6 separate regions of the Homo sapiens genome follow, and all the other regions are linked to region 1. Evidence: promoter capture Hi-C in 16 types of primary human blood cells and fetal thymus (Javierre and others, 2016). All regions are on one chromosome and are shown on one strand. The core of a region is centred on a gene start or on the middle of the fragment in contact, and the rest is flanking DNA. Distances in the headings are between cores, read along the strand shown. Region 1 holds the start of FAM3A (FAM3 metabolism regulating signaling molecule A). Region 2 overlaps MECP2 (methyl-CpG binding protein 2). Region 3 overlaps MECP2 (methyl-CpG binding protein 2). Region 4 overlaps MECP2 (methyl-CpG binding protein 2). Region 5 has its middle 6.6 kb from the start of MECP2. Region 6 has its middle 23 kb from the start of MECP2.

Region 1 (2,979 bases), core at 129-2,628:
TACTTTTTTGAGACGGAGTCTCGCTCTGTCGCCCAGGCTGGAGTTATGCGGTGGCGCAATCTCGGCTCACTGCAACCTCAGCCTCCCGGGTAGCTGGGATTACAGGCACCCGCCACCACGCCAGGCTCATTTTTTTGTATTTTTTTAGTAGAGATGAGGATTCACCATGTTGGCCAGGCTGGTCTCGAACTCCTGACTTCAAGTGATCCTCCCACCTCGGCCTCCCAAAGTGCTAGGATTACAGGCGTGAGCCACCGCGCCCGGCCTGTAGTGTGTTTTTAGATGATGTCATCTACTCCTAGCTCTTTAATTAAGCACCATGTGTCAATGACTTTCTATTTTCTAGTTCCAGCCGTGGCCTCTCTTGAAACCACTCCCTGCCAGCTGGTTCCTCAGTGGCCAGCTCCACCTGGATATGTCCACAAAGTTACCACCTTAGCAAGTCTGAAGTCCAATTCCCGAGTTGTTTCTACTCTCCACCCAGCCCCAACCTATCCCTCCCCAAGGATCTTCATCTTACTTGTCCAGGTGACAGTAGGGCTGTCATCGGGTTCATGTCGAAGCCCACAGCCACTTTTGTCACTTCCCCTCTAAGACCACGCCTCTCCACCTGGACTGCCCACCTCCTCTCTCTCACCACTCATTTTCCAAAAAGCAGCTGGTCTGCTACCTGCGTTGGGAGATACTGACTATACTAATCCTCATGTCATAGCTCGGGGAGCTGACGTCCTCAGAGGTGAAAGGATTTGGTTAAGGTCAAGGAACGAGTGTTTGTGCAGAGTCCTCCATTTCCAAAACCAAACCCAGTGGTTCACCCGGGCCTCTCCAGACACAGATGTCGCGACGCTGGGCCTCCAGCCAGGTGCCCTTTTCAACTCCCTCCCGTTCGCTGTGGAAGCCACCCACCTGCCAACCTCATGTCCACTTCTCCTGCTGGGTTGGGACCGCCGGCAAGTGCACTGTTTGGGGGCAAAGCGGAAGGACAGGTTTGGGTGGGGGTCAGGGGCAAGCCTGTGCGGGACCCCTGCTGGGGGCGGGCGCGATCGGTGCTACGACCTGTTTGTCCAGCCGCCCGGCCAGGCAGGGCTCCTCGGAAACGCGCGGGGAAACCCTGCCTGGCCAGGAGGGGCCTCAGGAACCCGTTGGCTCACGATCTTGCCCACAGGAGCCTCCGGGGCTGGGACGAAGATGTGGTTCTCCTGGGCTCGGGCCGTTCCTCCGGGCCTGGGGGCTGGCGATGCGGGCCGGGCCGGAGATTTCTCTGGCCGTGGGGAGACGTGGGCTCGGTCAGGGAGGTTCCCTGTCAGGCCCGCCGACCCGCTCCGCCCCGGGAGAGGACGCAAGGCCGCTGCGCAGGGTGGCCAGGCAGGCCCGGCAATGGCGGCTAAGGGCGGGGCCACAGCCCGCCGGCCCCGCCCCCGGCAGCAGCTGCGCCGTCTGGCTCCACGCAGGCCCCGCCTCCAGACCCGCCTCTACCGCTCGCGCTGGCCGCCGCATGGGAGGGGCCTGAACCTGTCCCGCCCCGAACCTGTCCCGCCCCTGGATCCCTCGTCGGCCCCACCTCCGCAGTGCGTTCAGGCTGAACCCACCGGCCGCCGAGTGGGAGGGGCCCACGTCGGTCCCGCCCCGGAAGTCTCCCCTCGGCCCTTTCTCGGGTGGGAGAGCCCTGCCTACCCAGGCTTAGAGGGCTGGGGCTGCGCTTGCACCCTGAGGTCAGATTTGTGAGTCGTGGGAAGACGCAGATGGATCTGGGGCAGAATTAGAACCTGTTCCAAAGTTGATCCATGCGCTTTGTAAAGGCAAGGGAGGTACAGAGGCGCAGATAGGGAAGACCGCAGGATCCAGCGTGAGCCTCTGGCTGCCTTTCCTTAGGGTCTGTTTTCTGTCCAGAAGCGCGTTCCTGCTGTCTCTCGTTATCACTTTTATAATGGGACGGGGCGTCTCAAACTATTTCGACATCCTTGAAAACTCTTGCCTGCTCCGCCTGCCTGGTCTCTAACACCCTCCTCCTCAGAGCTGCTCAAGCTGTGTTGTTTACGCCACACCCCACCCTAAAAGCAGAGGAGAATACAACTTTCGGGGGCAGTGGAGGGGGGAGTTTAGCGCTATAACCCGAGGCTTTCACAGCAAACCAGAATTTATTTTGAGGCCTCTCAGGTTCAGCTTTCAAGTCACGTGACTTTCGCGTCCTACACAACTCTTATTTTCACTTGAAAACAAGTGTGACGTCGTGAATTCCCTAACAATAGGAAAAAAGAAGGCTCCAGAAAGAGCGGTGCTTGGCTTTCCCAGCGGCTCCAAATGGTGCCCGGCACCCAGCTGGCTGTATGGACCTGGGGTGGTCTCCGGCCGCAGGCAGACGCGGCCCTTCGGCCTTTCTCCAGTCACCCCAATTCTCCCTGACTGCCTGGCTATCTCCCCTCCGCGCCTGCCCGCACGCTGCCCCCAACACTGCCCGGGCTCCCTCTGCCCATGAGAACACGGGTCAAGCTCCCGTCCCTTCTGCCCTGCCGGCTGCCCCAAGTGCGCCCTGACCACCTACTGCGCTGGCATGGCCGGGGCCACCCTGACAGCTGATCCATCATCTGTCTGGAGAGCAGCAGCAGGGCCCAATGAGAACCACGGAAACCTCCCTGCCCTTTGACCCAACTTACGGGAATCTCCTACCCTTAGGGAAACAATGCAAAATATAGAGAAAGTTTATAGAGCCGGGCATGGGAGAGCCCTGGTTAGAATCCAGCAGCTTCTATACTGGAGTACTCAACAGGGTCAAGGTCCCTTTCAGCTGCCTGCTGCTGGGGCCAGGGCTTTGCATTTGCGTTTTGTCATGGAATTTGACAGCCTCTCAAGTAATTATGGTAACGAATCTTGGGCTCCATGCCCTCCTCAGGGGGGCCCAGTCGAAGAAGCTCCAGGTTACTCACACCCTTGAGCTGCCAGCCGGTGTTTTTCAAAGACAATATTTACATGTTGTTCAGA
Region 2 (2,979 bases), core at 230-2,729, 480 kb before region 1:
TAAAGAGGGGTCCCTAATCTGTCCCAGCACAGAGCTCGCCTTGTTTTGTTTTTTGTTTTTTTTTTGAGATGGAGTCTCGCTCTGTTGCCGATGGCATAATATCGGCTCATCGCAACCTCCGCCTGCCGGGTTCAAGTTATTCTCCTGCCTCAGCCTCCGGAGTAGCTGGGATCACAGGCGTGTGCTACCACGCCAGGCTAATTTTTGTATGTTTAGTGGAGACGGGGTTTCACCATGTTGGGCAGGCTGGTCTCGAACTCCTGACCTCAGGTGATCGACCCGCCTCAGCCTCCCAAAGTGCTGGGATTACAGGCGTGAGCCACCGTGCCCAGCCAGAGCTTCCTTTTCATGTCTCTGAGTCTTACAGCTCTCAATGGGAAATGACGAAGAACCCTGGAAAGCTAGGTGTGGCCTGTTGCCCACCAGAGATCAGCCTTTGAGAATGGACCCCTAGGCAGCTCCCCAGCTCCCCATAAAGGAGGGAGGGAAGGGGAGCCACCAGCAGAGTGGGCCAAGAAAGCAGACAGATGGGAATCGCTACTTCTACACAATCCATCATGGCACTGCCTAACGCCAGGGCTGCTCCCTAGAACCCGGACGGTCCTAATGTCAGAGAAAAACAGTGAACTAATGGGAAAGATCTGGCTTCTTCGAAACTCTCATTTGCATTTCCCAAATACCTTAATCACCATGAGGTCAAACTATAAACCTAAACGTGACGTAAGGAATGCCTTCTAGAAATCTATGCTAAAGAGACACCTCCAGAAATCTCAAAGAACATATGCATGATGTTATTTGCTACAACATTATTTTTACCAGCCAAAGGCTTCCAATACCCCCGATCCCTATCACCAGGGCACTTGCTGAATAAACTTATGGTGCGCCCACACACTGGAGTACTGTGCAGATCCAAAGGGACTAAACAAGAGCTCTAAGAACTGCGATGGAGTCATTTCCAGGATCCACTGTGAAGCAAAGGGAGCAAAGCGCAAACATATCTACTGCATTCTACCAAAGAAAGAAGGGGGGGTATTAAGGAAGGACACACCAGGAACTAATGAAATTGATTCCCTGCATGGGGTAGGGGGAAAAAGGTAAGGGTACAGGCACAGGAGTGAGGCCTAGCTGAACATGCCTCAGTGTAATTCTGACTTCTGAATCATGTAAATGTTTATATTACCCAAAATAAAATTCAAACTAAAAGTAACAAAACCTTATTACACTTAATGCAAATAAAAACAAATGAGTTCGGGCCAGGCATGGTGGCTTCAGCCTACGATCCCAGCACTTTGGGAGGCCGAGGCGGGTCGATCACCTGAGGTCAGGAGTATGAGGCTGCAGTGAGCCATGACTACATCACTGCACTCCAGCCTGAGTGACAGAGCAAGACCCTGTCTCTCTCTCTCTCTTTTTTTTTTTTTGAGACAGAGTCTTGCTAGAGTGCCATGGCGTGATCTTGGCTCACTGCAACCTCCGACTCCTGAGTTCAAGCCTTCTCCTGCCTCAGCTTCCCGAGTAGCTGGGATTACAGGTACCTGCCATCACGCCCGGCTAATTTTTGTATTTTTAGCAGAGACGGGGTTTCACCATGCTGGCCAGGTTGGTCTTGAATTCCTGACCTCAGGCGATCCACCCACCTTGGCTTCCCAAAGTGCCGGGATTACAGGCATGAGACACCACGCCTGGCCAAGACCCTGTCTCTTAAAAAAAAAAAAAAAGAAAAGAAAAAAGAAAAGAAACAAATTTAATTCTATATCAAATTGACAATATACCACAGAGAAAAGATTTATTTCAAATGACTTTTGACTACAGTGCTCTGCAAACCTGTAGTGGGACATATTCTAAGGCCAACAATAACACTCCAGGGGCAGTAAACACACTAGATTGGCTCCCAGGAGAGATATGTGATTCTGCTTCTGGGGCATCTTGTGCCAGAAAGCCCGGGGAGTGCAAGAGAAAAACAGGGAGGGCCCATGAGAGGCCTCTAGCAGTGGTCCAGGTGTGGCCCAGGGTGGGGGCAGTTGAGGATTTGGGGCTGGTCTAGGTGGTGAAGCAACAGAGCTCGCAGGTGGATTAGTGTGGGGGTGAGGGGCAAGGGTGAGTCAGGGACCATGTCCAAAGCCTGGGAAGATGGTGGTGCCACTGATTGAGAAGGAAAAGACTGAGGGGCCGGCTGGGTGCAGTGGCTCTCACCTGTAATCCCAGCACTGTGGGAGGCTGAGGCAGGTGGATCACCTGAGGTCTGGAGTTCGAGCCCAACCTGGCCAACATGGTGAAACTCCGTCTCTACTAAAAATACAAAAATGAGCCGGGCGTGGTGGCAGGTGCCTGTAAGTCCCAGCTACATGGAAGGCTGAGGGAGAAGAATCGCCTGAACCCAGGAGGCAGAGGTCGCAGTGAGCTGAGATCGCAAGACTCCGTCTCAAAAAAACAAAAACAAAAACAAAACCACTGGAGCGGCAGGGGAGCAACACCCACAGAGACAGTTATACCATCAAGGAGAGAAAACAGTTCTTCAGCTACTCGCTAGAAAGGGGGGAAACCCCGCTGTGATCAGATTCTGAGTTGGGCCTGAATGAAAATGAACTGTCTGCTTGGGGTTTTAAAGGCTTTTTATTGTGGTAAAATATACAAAACAGGTCAGGTGTGGTGGCTTACACTTGTAATCCCAGCACTTTGGGAGGTGAGGCAGGTGGATCGCTTGAGCTCAGGAGTTTGAGACCAGCCTGGGCAACATAGCAAAACCCTGTCTCTACAAAAAAAAAAAAAAAAAAAAAAAATTAGCTGGGCATGGTGGTGTGTGCCTGTAATCCTAGCTACTCGGGAGGCTGAGGCAGGAGGATCACTTGAGCCTAGGAAGTTGAGGCTGCAGTGAGCCGTTGATCATGCCACTGCACTCCTGCCTGGGCGAACAAACCAGACACATATATGTCTCAAAAAAAAATACATATATATATATATATATATATATATATATAT
Region 3 (2,979 bases), core at 339-2,838, 460 kb before region 1:
CAAGAAATGGAACAAGTGCCACACCAGAGGTGACAAGAAGAGGGGACCATACAATAATAGGTAACTTCCCTGTCACACGAGACTGCTTGGAGACAAGGATACAGAGCCCAGCATAGGAGATGGGACAAAATGATGAGGGTCAAGGACCACACCTGGTTTAACTCCCAGTGAAGAGTTTTAGCCAGTAAAGAGCTGCAAGAAGGAAATCACACACCACGAAGAGGCCACTAAGATAAACGCTTGAATCTGATTAAGTTTTCACCTGAAAAGTGTGGGTAAGGACAAGCCTGCCTTGTTGGGTAGTACAGATTCAGTGAATGAGCCCTCAGATCCTGCTGGATCCCGTGATCAGATAAACAGCAGCTTCTCAGGAACCACTGCATGTGAGGTTAGGGTGAGGGGAGGGACCCGATGGAGATCTAATCCCAGGGGTTTGGTCACAGGGGCTGGCGAATGAGAGGTGGAGACCGGGAACATACGCCACTTTTTTTTTTTTTTTTTTTTTTTTTGAGACGGGGTCTCACTGTGTCACCCAGGCTGGAGTGCAGTGGCACCATCTTGGCTCACTGCAACCTCCGCCCCCCAGGTTCAAGCGATTCTCCTGCCTCAGCCACCCAAGTAGCTGGGATTACAGGCGCCTGCCACTGCGCCTGGCTAGTTTTTCTATTTTTAGTAGAGACGGGGTTTCACCATCTCGGCCAGGCTGGTTTTGAACTCCTGACCTCGTGATCCACCCACCTCGGCCTCCCACAGTGCGGGGATTACAGGCGTGAGCCACTGCGCCCGGCCAGCCACTCTTTTTTTTTGAGATGGAGTTTCGCTCTTGTTGGCCGGGCTGGAATGCAATGGCACGATCTCGGCTCACTGCACCCTCCATCTCCCAGGTTCAAGTGATTCTCCTGGCTCAGCCTCCCAAGTAGCTGGGATTACAGGCATGCGCCACCACGCCCAGCTAATTTTGTATTTTTAGTAGGGACGGGATTTCTCCATGTTGGTCAGGCTGGTCTTGAACTCCTGACCTCAGGTGATCCACCTGCCTTGGCCTCCCAAAGTGCTGGGATTACAGGCATGAGCCACCAGGCCCAGCCTAAGCCACTCTTTTGGAAAGCTCAGCAGAGAAGATGCATGAGGTAATACGACGCGTTAGGTGGCCTTTAAAGGGATGTTTATAGCTTTTCATAACATGGGTGTATTAGTCTGCTCAAGCTATAACAAAATAGTACAGACTGGGGGGCCTATTCAACTGAAATTTCTCACAGTTCTGGAGGCTAGAAGTCCAAGATCAAGGTGTCAGCACATTCAGCCCCTGGTGAGGGCTCTCTTTCTGACTTGGAGATGGCTGCCTTCTCATTGCATACTCACATGGTGGAGAAAGCAAGCTCTCTGCTGTCTCTTGTTATAAGGACACTAATCTCATCATGCGAAACCCACCCTCCCTCCTGATTTCATCTAAACCTAACCACCTCTCAAATACCCCATCTCCAAATAACATCACATTGGAGGTTTGAGCTTCAACACTGGAATTTTGGGGGACACAAACATTCAGTCCATAACAGTGCTGATGTTTATGTTTTAATGTTAAATGATAACAGCACAGCACAGCAGCACACACACTGTGTGATGCCAATCTGTTTGTTTGTTTGTTTGTTTGTTTTTTTAGATAGGTTCTCACTCTGTTGCCTGGGCTATAGCAGTAGTGTGATCACACCTCACTGCAACCTCGACCTCCAGGTTCAAGCAATCCTCCCACCTCAGCCTCTCAAAGTGCTGGGATTCCAGGCATGAGCCACCATGCCTGGCCTCCAATTTGTATTTAATGCCACTGAACTGTACATTTAAAAATGGTAAATTTTAGGTGATGTGTATTTTACTACAATTTTTTTAAAAGTCTAAGAGAAGGCAAGAAAGGAGAAGGAAAATTTAAAAGAACAGAAAATATGGAAAAATAGAATGCACAAATATGCTATAAATGAATCTAAATACATCAGAAATCAAATAGATGTTAAAGGACGAAACAGACAATGGATTTTTTAAAAAATCTCGAGGCCGGGTGCGGTGGCTCACGCCTGTAATCCCAGCACTTTGGGAGGCTGAGGCGGGCGGATCACGAGGTCAGGAGATCGAGACCATCCTGGCTGACACGGTGAAACCCCGTCTCTACTAAAAATACAAAAAAAAAAAAAAAAAAAAAATCAGCCACGCGTGGTGGCGGGCACCTGTAGTCCCAGCTACTCTGGAGGCTGAAGCAGGAGAATGGCATGAACCCGGGGGGCGGAGCTTGCAGTGAGCCGAGATCGCGCCACCGCACTCCAGCCTGGGCGACAGAGCAAGACTCCGTCTCAAAAAAAAAAAAAAAAAAAAAATCTAGCTATCAGCTGGGCATGGTGGCTCACGTCTGTAATTCCAACACTTTGGGAGGCTGAGGCGGGTGATCAGCTGAGGTGAGGAGTTTGAGACCAGCCTGGCCAACATGGTGAAACCACATCTCTACTAAAAATACAAAATTAGCCGGGTGTGGTGGCACGTGCCTGTAGTCCCAGCTACTCAGGAGGCTGCGGCAGGAGAATTGTTTTGAACCTGGGAGGTGGAGGTTGCAGTGAGCCGAGATCACGCCATTGCACTCCAGCCTGGGCAACAAGAGCAAAACTCCGTCTCAAAAAAAAAAAATCTAGCTATCTGACATTTTCAAAAGCTCCACCTCACTGATGCATAAAGACACAGAAAGGAGGAAAATAAAAAACTGGGATGGCCGGGCGTGGTGGCTCACACCTGTAATCCCAACACTTTTAGAGGCCAAGGCTGGTGAACTGCTTGAGCCCAGGAGTTTGAGACCAGTCTGGGCAACATGGCAAAACCCTGTCTCTACTAAAAATACAAAAACTTAGCCAGGCGCGCTGGTGCAAGCCTGTAATCCCAGCTACTCAGGAGGCTGAGGTGGGAGGACCACTTGAGCCCAGGAGGCGGAGGTTGCAGTGAGCT
Region 4 (2,979 bases), core at 181-2,680, 430 kb before region 1:
AGAGCACCTCACGCTGCCTTCTGGGGCCCAGGGAACATCTAAGAGTGTGACGGGGCCTGGAAAGAAAGCCGAGCCTGGCCGGGCGTGGGGGCTCTCACCTGTAATCCCAGCACTCTGGGAGGCCGAGACGGGTAGATCACCTAAGGTCAGGAGTTTGAGGCCAACATGGTGAAACTCCGTCTCTACTAAAAATACAAAAATTAACCGGGCATGGTGGCGGGTGCCTGTAATCCTAGCTGCTTGGGAGGCTAAGGCAGAAGAATTGCTTGAACCCTGGAAGTGGGGGTTGCAGTGAGCCGAGATCATGCCATTGCACTCCAGCCTGGGTGACAGAGAAAGACGTCTCAAAAAAAAAAAAAAAAAAAAAGAAAGAAAAAAGAAAAAAAGAAAAATGCTCCTCTCCACATGTCCTGGCTGGTTGTTCATGCCTCGTCTTCACACAGTGGACTCTCTGAATGGGCCTGAGAGATTCTCTCCTGTCAGAGCCTCTACACATGCTGGTCCTTCCAAAAGACTCATGCATCTCTCCCCACTGATGCTTTGTCCTTGACCTAGCTAATGTTTCCTTGCTGTTCAGGTCTTAGATGCCATTTTTCAAAGAAGTCTCCTCCCTGACCTACCTCCCAATTCTTGGTAGGATCTCCTCTGATTTTTATGTGCTCCCTTAGTGGCTGGAACTTCTCTCCATCACAGAAGTTAGCCTCTTGTAAAGTCATAGCCCATTTGCCTGTCTGTACCTCCCATTAGACCAGAAGACTGCTGAGGGTAGGATAGTTTCCAGCAGCTAGCACAGTAACTGACACATAATAAATGCTCAATTAGTACAGCTTAAAAAAGTACTGCTATATAAAGAGTTCAACAGTCACAGAACAACAAAGCAACCACAGCCTGTTCCTGAATACTTCTAGGACACCTCTTATGCATATTACAGCATGAGGAGGCAGAAGGTCCAGCAGCAGAGGGAGATTCTCCAACCCCGAGTACCAAGGAACTACCACAACCTAGAATGGTCCCAAAATAAAAATGCTCCACTTTCTTCAAGGTTCACAAACAAGAACTGGGCAAGTTCCCCTTGTCGAGTAAAAAGGTCCTTCCCTCACATGCCCTACTCAGATGAGGTCACTTTTGATGAAATGGAAGTTTCCAAAGTTTTGCTTTCTAGTGCTAACTGCTAAAAACTTCTTCCTAGCCTAACAGCTCTGTGATCTCTACAAACAGTATTGCAGTGATAAATTCGTATGCTTATCTACTTACACGCAACTTTTTCTCTAATGGTCTGCAAATAAAAGGCTACTCTTGTCGGGCTCCATGGCTCATGGTTGTAATCTCGGCACTTTGGGAGGCCAAGGCAGGAGGATTACTCAAGCCCAAGGAGTTCAAGACCAGCCTGGGCAACACAGTGAAACCCCGTGTCTACCAAAAATAAAAATAAAAATAAAAATAAAAAATTTAGCCAGGCATGGCGGCACATCCCTGTAGTCCCAGCTACAAGAGAGCCTGAGGTGGGAGGATCACATCAGCCCCGGAGTTCAAGGCTGCAGTAAGCTATGATCATGCTGTTGCACTCCAGTCTGGGTGATGGAGTGGGATCCTGTCTCTAAAAAAACATTAAAAAAAATAAGTAAAAAATTTAAAAACTGGTTAAATAAATTGTGGTACATCCATAACAGACTATTTAAACCCAACCCTTAAAAGGAATGATACGGCTCTGTATGAACCGATTCTAAATAATCTACAGGATACATTAAAATAAACAAATGTGCACAATATTTTATAGTATGTGTAAAAACACAACGCCCACATACCCTTGTGTATTTATACACACATGTAAAATATATACACAAACCTAAACACACAAAAATATGTCCAATAGAGACAAAGAGTAGAATAGTAGTTGCCAGAGGGTGGGGTGGGGGAAAGGGGAGAAGTGGGAGTTAGTGTTTAATAGGTATGAAATTTCAGTTTTGCAAGACGAAAGGTTGTAGAGATGGATGGTAGTAATGGCTGTACAACAATGTGAATGTACTCAGTGCCACTGAACTGTACAGTTAAGATGATTAAAACTGTAAATTGTTATATATATCGATATATATTTTTTGAGACGGAGTCTCGGTCTGTCGCCCAGGCTGGAGTGCAGTGACGCGATCTCGGCTCACTGCAAGCTCCGCCTCCTGGGTTCACGCCATTCTCCTGCCTCAGGCTCTCAGAGTAGCTGGGACTACAGGCGCCCGCCACCATGCCCGGCTAATTTTTTGTATTTTTAGTAAAGACGAGGTTTCACCGTGCTCGCCAGGATGGTCTCGATCTCCTGACCTCGTGATCAGCCTGCCTCGGCCTCCCAAAGTGCTGGGATTACAGGCGTGAGCCACCACGCCCAGCCTGTTATATATATTTTATAATAAAAATTTAACACACGGGTACACACACGCTTTTTTTTTTGAGATGGAGTCTCATTCTGTTGCCAGGCTGGAGTGCAGCGGCGTGATCTCAGTTCACTGCAACCTCTGCCTCCCAGGTTCAAGCGATTCTCCTGCCTCAGCCTCCCGAGTAGCTGGGACTACAGGTGCCCGCCACCATGCCCGGCTAATTTTTTGTATTTTTAGTAGAGATGGGGTTTTACCATGTTGGCCAAGATGGTCTCGATCTCTTGACCTCATGATCCACCCACCTCCACCTCCCAAAGTGCTAGGATTACAGGCGTGAGCCACCGTGCCCGGCCACAATTTTTTTTTTTTTTTAAAGAAACAGGTAATAGTGGCTGCCTCCAGGGAAAGAAATGAATGTTTGGGGCAGGGTAGCAGAGATACTTTACAATATAACTCTTTTTTTTTTTTTTTTGAGACGGAGTTCCGCTCTTGTCGTCCAGGCTGGAGTGCAACGGCATGATCTTGGCTCACTGCAACCTCTGCCTCCCAGGTTCAGGCGATTCTCCTGCCTCAGCTTCCCAAGTAGCTGGGACTACAGGCACGCACCACCACG
Region 5 (2,979 bases), core at 318-2,817, 410 kb before region 1:
ATATATTGTATGTTACAAAATACCTAGAAGAGAGACTTTTGAAAGTTCCCACAACAAAGAAATGGTACATGCATGAGCTGATGGATATATTAACTACCCTGCTTGGACCATTGTGCAACATAAATATATATTGAAATATCAAATTGTACTCCCTAAATATGTGTCAATTAAAAAACAAAAATAAAAAGCCCCACATACATCCTTCTTCCATTCTCTTTTAAACCTCATTCTTGGTGCGTCTCTGCGGGGAGAAAGGCCCATTTCAAGTCAGTTCCCCGGTGTTAGGATGCAGGCATGTAAACACGACCAGTAATAAAAAGCTGGAAAATGTAATGAGGGAAAAAAGATTCAACTCACTCTCACTACAAAAATTATAAAACAGCTGGGAATAAACTTAATAAGAAATGTCAAAACCTGCATCAAAAAGCTATAAAACTTTACTGAAAAATCTAAAAGAAGACCTGAAGAAAACAAAAACAAAAACAGACGCTACCGTATTCCTGGAGGGGAAGCATTAACATTATAGAAATGTTAATTCTTCATCAATAACTCTGGAAATTCTTTGCTCAATCAAAAGTCAAGAAGTTTCATGGGCTATAACAACTTAAATCTAGATTGGAAAGAATAATGTACAAGACTAGAACTCAAGAAGTTTTTGAAATATTAAAAAATAATGAAGAGAATCTTGCTAAATTCCTTAGGTTGAATAGAAGGAACTTAAGTTATACAGTTTCACACTTGCCATTGAAAAGTAGAAAAATATACTATAATCGGCTGGGCATGGTGGCTCACGTCTGTAATCCCAGCACTTTGAGAGGCCGAGGCGGGCAGATCACGAGGTCAGGAGATCGAGACCATTCTGGCTAACAAGGTGAAACCCCGTCTCTACTAAAAATACAAAAAATTAGCCGGGTGTGGTGGTGGGCGCCTGTAGTCCCAGCTACTTGGGAGGATGAGGCAGGAGAATGGGGTGAACCCAGGAGGCGGAGCTTGCAGTGAGCCGAGATCGTGCCACTGCACTCCAGCCCGGGTAACAGAGCAAGACTCCATCTCAAAAAAAAGAAAAAAAAGAAAAATATACTATAATCAAAATTATTTACTATTAGAATTAAAAATCAGTAATTTAAAAAATGGGACTGTAATAGTTTAAGGTCCTCTTAAAAACAGGACTGTAGAAGATAAAAACCAGGAAAATCTAGTATAGATGGTAATTGACAGAAAGCCCACAACCAGAAGGATTTTATCAATATGACAAACAACACAAACTTTTACTCCATTTGTCTAAAAATCTCTTAAACTGATAGAGAATATATATATTTCAGAAGAGCTAATCCAGGCCAGGGGCGCTGGCTCATGCCTGTAATCCCAGCACTTTGGGAGGCCAAGGCAGGAGGATCGCTTGAGCCCAGGAGTTCGAGATCAGCCTGGGCAACAAAGTGAGACCCCGTTTTTCCCAAAAATGAAATAAATTAGCTGGGCACGTGCGCACCTGTAGTCCTAGCTACTCAACAGGCTGAGGTGGGATCATGCCACTGCACTCCAGCCTGGGAGAAAGAGCAAGCCCCTGTCTCTAAAAACAAAAGAAATGACCAACATTGAGAGCCCTACATATTAAAACCTAGGAGATAAGGCTACAGAGGTCACCTAGAAAAATTAATAGCCTTAACCATATTTGTTAGAAAATAGATAAGAAATGAATAAATTCTGATATAAGACACCATGAGCAGGCACAGATGTGCATGAACACACACACACCCAGACACACAGACACACACACACAGTCACATACACAGACACACAGACACACACACAGACACACAGACACAGACACACACACACACACACAGTTTTCCTTCTTTACTCATAGAAGTGCACTAAAAGAAGAATGTCAAGAAACAGAAAGGAGGCAGGGTGTGGTGGCTCATGCCTGTAATCCCAGCACTTTGGGAAGCCAAGGAGGGTGAATTGCTTGAGGTCAGGAGTTCGAGACCAGCTTGGCCAACATGGTGAAACCCTGCCTCTGCTAAAAATACAAACAATTAGCCAGGCCTGGTGGCACGCACCTGTAATCCCAGCTACTTGGGAGGCCGAGGCAGGAGAATCGCTTGAACCCAGGAGGCAGAGGTTGCAGTGAGCCGAGATCGTGCCATTGCACTCCAGCCTGGGTGACAGAGCAAGACTCCGTCTGAAAAAAAAAAAAAAAGGAAAGGAATAAACCCACCAGAGTGAAGAGAATGTGGTGAGGATGAGAGGTTATCATCAAAGGACAACAACTTTATAGAAAGCATATGGGAATTGATTGATGAATAAAATAGGCAGTAAAAATCCAGGTGAGAATATTTGACAAGGGAGCCACAGAAGAAGTGGGAGTGAGTTTGCTAGATATAACACCAGACAATCAGAATCAGTAGGCATGTGGTAGAAAACGATAGAATTAAATAGGACTGAACACATGGGGATTAATTGAAGGCACCAGTACAGAATGACTGTACCAGTTGGAACCTCCTCTCCCCACCAGACAGCTGAGCTGGGAGCTGGCACAGACCTACAGGGAAAACACCTGACAGTTCTGTAAAGAAATTGATTGAAATGTCGGTGGAGAGCTAAGGCTTCCAGCATGGATGCTGACAACCCCTGAACAATTGTTTCCTCATTCCGGCATCTAGGGGATACTCTGTTCGTCACCTCCCTGTCCTACACAGAGAAGAGTCACAGCAGGAAAACAGACCTATTTGCCCAACAGCAGATTAAATCCACAATACTTATCCAGTCCTTCCTTATTAAATATAAACCAGTCAGTAAATATTATCAGAAATTTGATGAAAGCCTTCAACAGGAAAAAGAGTCAAGATAAACCTGTAGAAAAAATATAAACTTGGAATTCAAGAAAATTCAGGGAATGTATCAAAAAATTTAATTTAATTAACATATCTACAGAACTAAAAGAAAATGCTGTATTCATAAAACAAGAACAGAATA
Region 6 (2,979 bases), core at 322-2,821, 400 kb before region 1:
AACTTTTTGTCATTAAATATGATGATGCTATAACTATTTTAATAAATCCTTTGCTAAGGAAGTTCATTTTAATTCCTAGGCTCCTGACTTTTCTTTGTAATCATGAATGGATATTGAATTTTATCCAGTGCTTTTTCTGTGCTTATTGTGGTGATCATGTAATTGGTATTTTTTTTAATTTTTTTTGAGACAGGGTCTCGCTTTATCACCCAGGCTGGAGTGCAGTGGCATGATCTCAGCTCACTGCAGCCTCAACCTCCTGGGCTCAAGCGATCCTCTTGCCTCAGCTCCCCAAGTAGCTGGGATGACAGGCATGTGCCACCACCGGCAATTTGTGTGTGTGTGTGTGTGTGTGTGTGTGTGTGTGTGTGTGTGTGTCTATTATTTGTAGAGATGAGGTTTCACCATGTTAACCAGGCTGGTCTCAAACTCCTGAGTTCAAGCAATCTGCCTGCCTTAGCCTCCCAAAGTGCTAGGCTTACTGACATGAGCCACCATGCCCTGCTGATCATGTAATTTTTCTTCTTTAACATTAATTTGGTTAATTACAATAAATGATTTTATATTATTAAACTAACTTTGCACTCCTGAGATAAACACATCTTGGTCACCATGTATTATCTTTTTTTTTCCTTTTGTTTGGTTTTTTTTGAGACAGCATCTCGCTCTGTCTCCCAGGCTGGAGTGCAGTGGCACAATCTCGGCTCACTGCAACCTCCACCTCCTGGGTTCAAACGATTCTCCTGCCTGACCCTCCCGAGTAGCTGGGATTATAGGTGCACGCCACCAGGCCCAGCTAATTTTTTGTATTTTTAGTAGAGACTGGATTTCGCCATGTTGGCCAGGCTGGTCTTGAACTCCTGACCTCAGGTGATCCACCCGCCTCAGCCTCCCAAAGTGCTGGGATTACAGGCGTGAGCCACCGTGCCCAGTCCAGTCACCATGTATTATCTTTTTTACATATTGCTAGTATTCTGTTTGGGATTTCTGAATCTCTGCCTACAAGTGAAGTTGGCTTATAATTTTCTTTCTCATAATGTCCTTGACAGGTTTTGGTTTCAAGGTTATGTTTGCCTTCTAACAAGAGTGGAGCCTCTTTTTCTTAATTCTCTGAAAGAGTTTGTGTAAAATTAGAACTATTGCTTCTTGAATATTTGATAGATCTTGCTGATGAAGTCATCTAGGCCTAGAGTTTGGTTTGAACGGAAGATATTTTATTACTAACAAAAAATTTATAATTATATGACTATTTAGGGTCTTTGCTTTTTCTTGAGTCAATACTGGTAATTTCTTTTTCTAGGACTTTGTTCATTTCAACTGTATTTTCAAATGTATTGGCACAAAGTTATTCACAATAGCCATTACTTTAAAATCCTGTCTGCATCTGTGGTTATAGCCATTTTCCATTCATAGTATAGTTTCCATGTGCCTTTTCTCTTGTTTCTCTCAATGAGGACTGTAAATGTCATTAGTCCTGCCAGGGAAGCTTCTGCCTCTGACAGGCGTCACTGCTTTGCTCCCTGCTCTAAGGAGTCACCTGTGTGAAGTTTTTCCTTTTCCCATCAATCATGTCGCCATCCTCCTGGCAACAGTATAGATTGGTGTCTGACGTAGGAATGACACAAAGACCCCATCCAAAAGTAGCCAAACTTTATTTCAAGCTTAAGAAAATGCATATTTTCTCCAAACTTAAGCAGAACATTGTTATGAGAAAAAAACTGGACTTTCTTGCACTGTATTTCTTTTTTAGGGGGAGGGGGGAAGGGGAGATGGAGTCTCGCTCTGTCGCCCAGGCTGGAGAGCAGTGGTGCGATCTTGGCTCACTGCAACCTCCGCCTCCTGGGTTCAAGCAGTTCTCTGCCTCAGCCTCCCAAGTAGCTAGGATTACAGGCGCCCACCATCACGCCCGGCTAATTTTTGTATTTTTAGTAGAGACAGGGTTTCACCATGTTGGCCAAGCTGGTCTTGAACTCCTGACCTCATGATCCACCCGCCTCGGCCTCCCAAAGTGCTGGGATTACAAGCGTGAGCCACCGCACCCGGCCTCTTGCACTGTATTTCTGTTGGAAGATCACAACCATGTTGCTCATTCTTTCTTATTAAGATTCCCATATCTGGTGTTTCTTGGAGATGTATCTAGGTCAACATGACCCAGGTTTAACCCAAACAACTCATAAAAACATGGCAGACTTTTAGCCCTTGGGAAATGAACTTGCTTTGGCCCTACTGAAGAGACTCATTTAAACCCTCCTCTTCCTCTGAAGCCTGTCCCTGAGAACTCCACCTTCCCTTTCTCTTTTCAGGCTGCCTGGCTGCACTTGGACCTACGCTCATCATCTCTTTGGCTGTTTCCATTGTTTAGAGGTTCCCCTCAATGTCCCTGGCCTCAGGATAGCTGCCACTGGAGCACAGCCCTGGCCTGGGAAGTCCCAGCAGGACCCCAGAGGCTCCTTGAGTCTCTTACCTTCCTTCCCAGGAGGACTGTCACTGAGGGGGGAGCCGAACTTTGGTCACAGCAATTGAGCTGCTTTCTAAGCTCTCATCTGTCCAAGTGTGATGTCCACTGGAAGTTTCTGGTCCTTTGGCCCATTTTGATTAGTTCCTCTTGTCTTCCAGGGTGAGAGACCAAAAGTCCTGTTTCTGTAAATCATGGCTGTGTGCCAGTATACAAAACTGACAAGACCCCTTAGGACATTTGTCTTCCAATTTTGAAACCGGAAGCCTGGATGAAGTGTCCTGTCTCCCAGATTGAAATCTTGGAAAACCTGTTTGTGACACCATTGGTTATCTTCTCTGTGCTTCCCGTCTGTGGCCAGAATTGTGCCCAAGAGCCTGGGCCAGAGCCAGCCGAGTAGCCCTGCCCTGTGGACCCAGGGGTCTTTTTATAGTTAACTTGTAGCTACAGCTGGAGAACTGGTTCTGCCTGTCTTCTGTGGTTTCCTGGCTGTGCACACTACTGAGTCGTCACCGAAGGGGATC

The links. The method cuts DNA at HindIII sites, captures the fragments that hold promoters and counts their contacts. A CHiCAGO score of 5 or more calls a contact.
Region 2: a contact is called between a fragment that was not itself captured here and the fragment with the promoter of FAM3A in region 1, in 4 of 17 cell types (monocytes, neutrophils, total CD8 T cells and 1 more). The highest score is 11.1, in monocytes.
Region 3: a contact is called between a fragment that was not itself captured here and the fragment with the promoter of FAM3A in region 1, in 8 of 17 cell types (neutrophils, monocytes, non-activated CD4 T cells and 5 more). The highest score is 10.1, in neutrophils.
Region 4: a fragment that was not itself captured here is called in contact with the fragment with the promoter of FAM3A in region 1 in 2 of 17 cell types (total CD8 T cells and naive CD4 T cells); the score reaches 5.4 in total CD8 T cells.
Region 5: a fragment that was not itself captured here is called in contact with the fragment with the promoter of FAM3A in region 1 in 2 of 17 cell types (monocytes and neutrophils); the score reaches 5.5 in monocytes.
Region 6: a fragment that was not itself captured here is called in contact with the fragment with the promoter of FAM3A in region 1 in 6 of 17 cell types (monocytes, activated CD4 T cells, naive B cells and 3 more); the score reaches 15.3 in monocytes.

What each region holds. Positions count from the first base shown.
Region 1 is chrX:154,514,854-154,517,832 of GRCh38, forward strand. FAM3A (FAM3 metabolism regulating signaling molecule A) reads right to left here and starts at 1,379. Exons shown (of 9, transcript NM_021806.4): 1 at 907-1,379. The coding sequence starts at 919. It overlaps LOC124905229 (a long non-coding RNA gene), which reads left to right and starts at 627. Exons shown (of 2, transcript XR_007068357.1): 1 at 627-862. RefSeq lists enhancers at 647-1,270, 1,271-1,893 and silencers at 1,244-1,653, 1,869-2,025. The HindIII fragment of the contact is 19,151 bases long and covers 1-2,979 here.
Region 2 is chrX:154,034,197-154,037,175 of GRCh38, forward strand. All of the region lies in intron 1 of MECP2 (methyl-CpG binding protein 2), which reads right to left. Among named protein-coding and RNA genes, the nearest start is that of MIR718, 16 kb to the left of the region's middle. RefSeq lists an enhancer at 1,708-2,273. The HindIII fragment of the contact is 6,646 bases long and covers 1-2,979 here.
Region 3 is chrX:154,051,971-154,054,949 of GRCh38, forward strand. All of the region lies in intron 1 of MECP2 (methyl-CpG binding protein 2), which reads right to left. Among named protein-coding and RNA genes, the nearest start is that of MIR718, 33 kb to the left of the region's middle. The HindIII fragment of the contact is 7,842 bases long and covers 1-2,979 here.
Region 4 is chrX:154,083,842-154,086,820 of GRCh38, forward strand. The region is part of intron 1 of MECP2 (methyl-CpG binding protein 2); the gene reads right to left. Among named protein-coding and RNA genes, the nearest start is that of MECP2, 12 kb to the right of the region's middle. The HindIII fragment of the contact is 4,984 bases long and covers 1-2,979 here.
Region 5 is chrX:154,102,854-154,105,832 of GRCh38, forward strand. No RefSeq gene overlaps it. Among named protein-coding and RNA genes, the nearest start is that of MECP2, 6.6 kb to the left of the region's middle. The HindIII fragment of the contact is 9,158 bases long and covers 1-2,979 here.
Region 6 is chrX:154,119,190-154,122,168 of GRCh38, forward strand. No RefSeq gene overlaps it. Among named protein-coding and RNA genes, the nearest start is that of MECP2, 23 kb to the left of the region's middle. The HindIII fragment of the contact is 175 bases long and covers 1,485-1,659 here.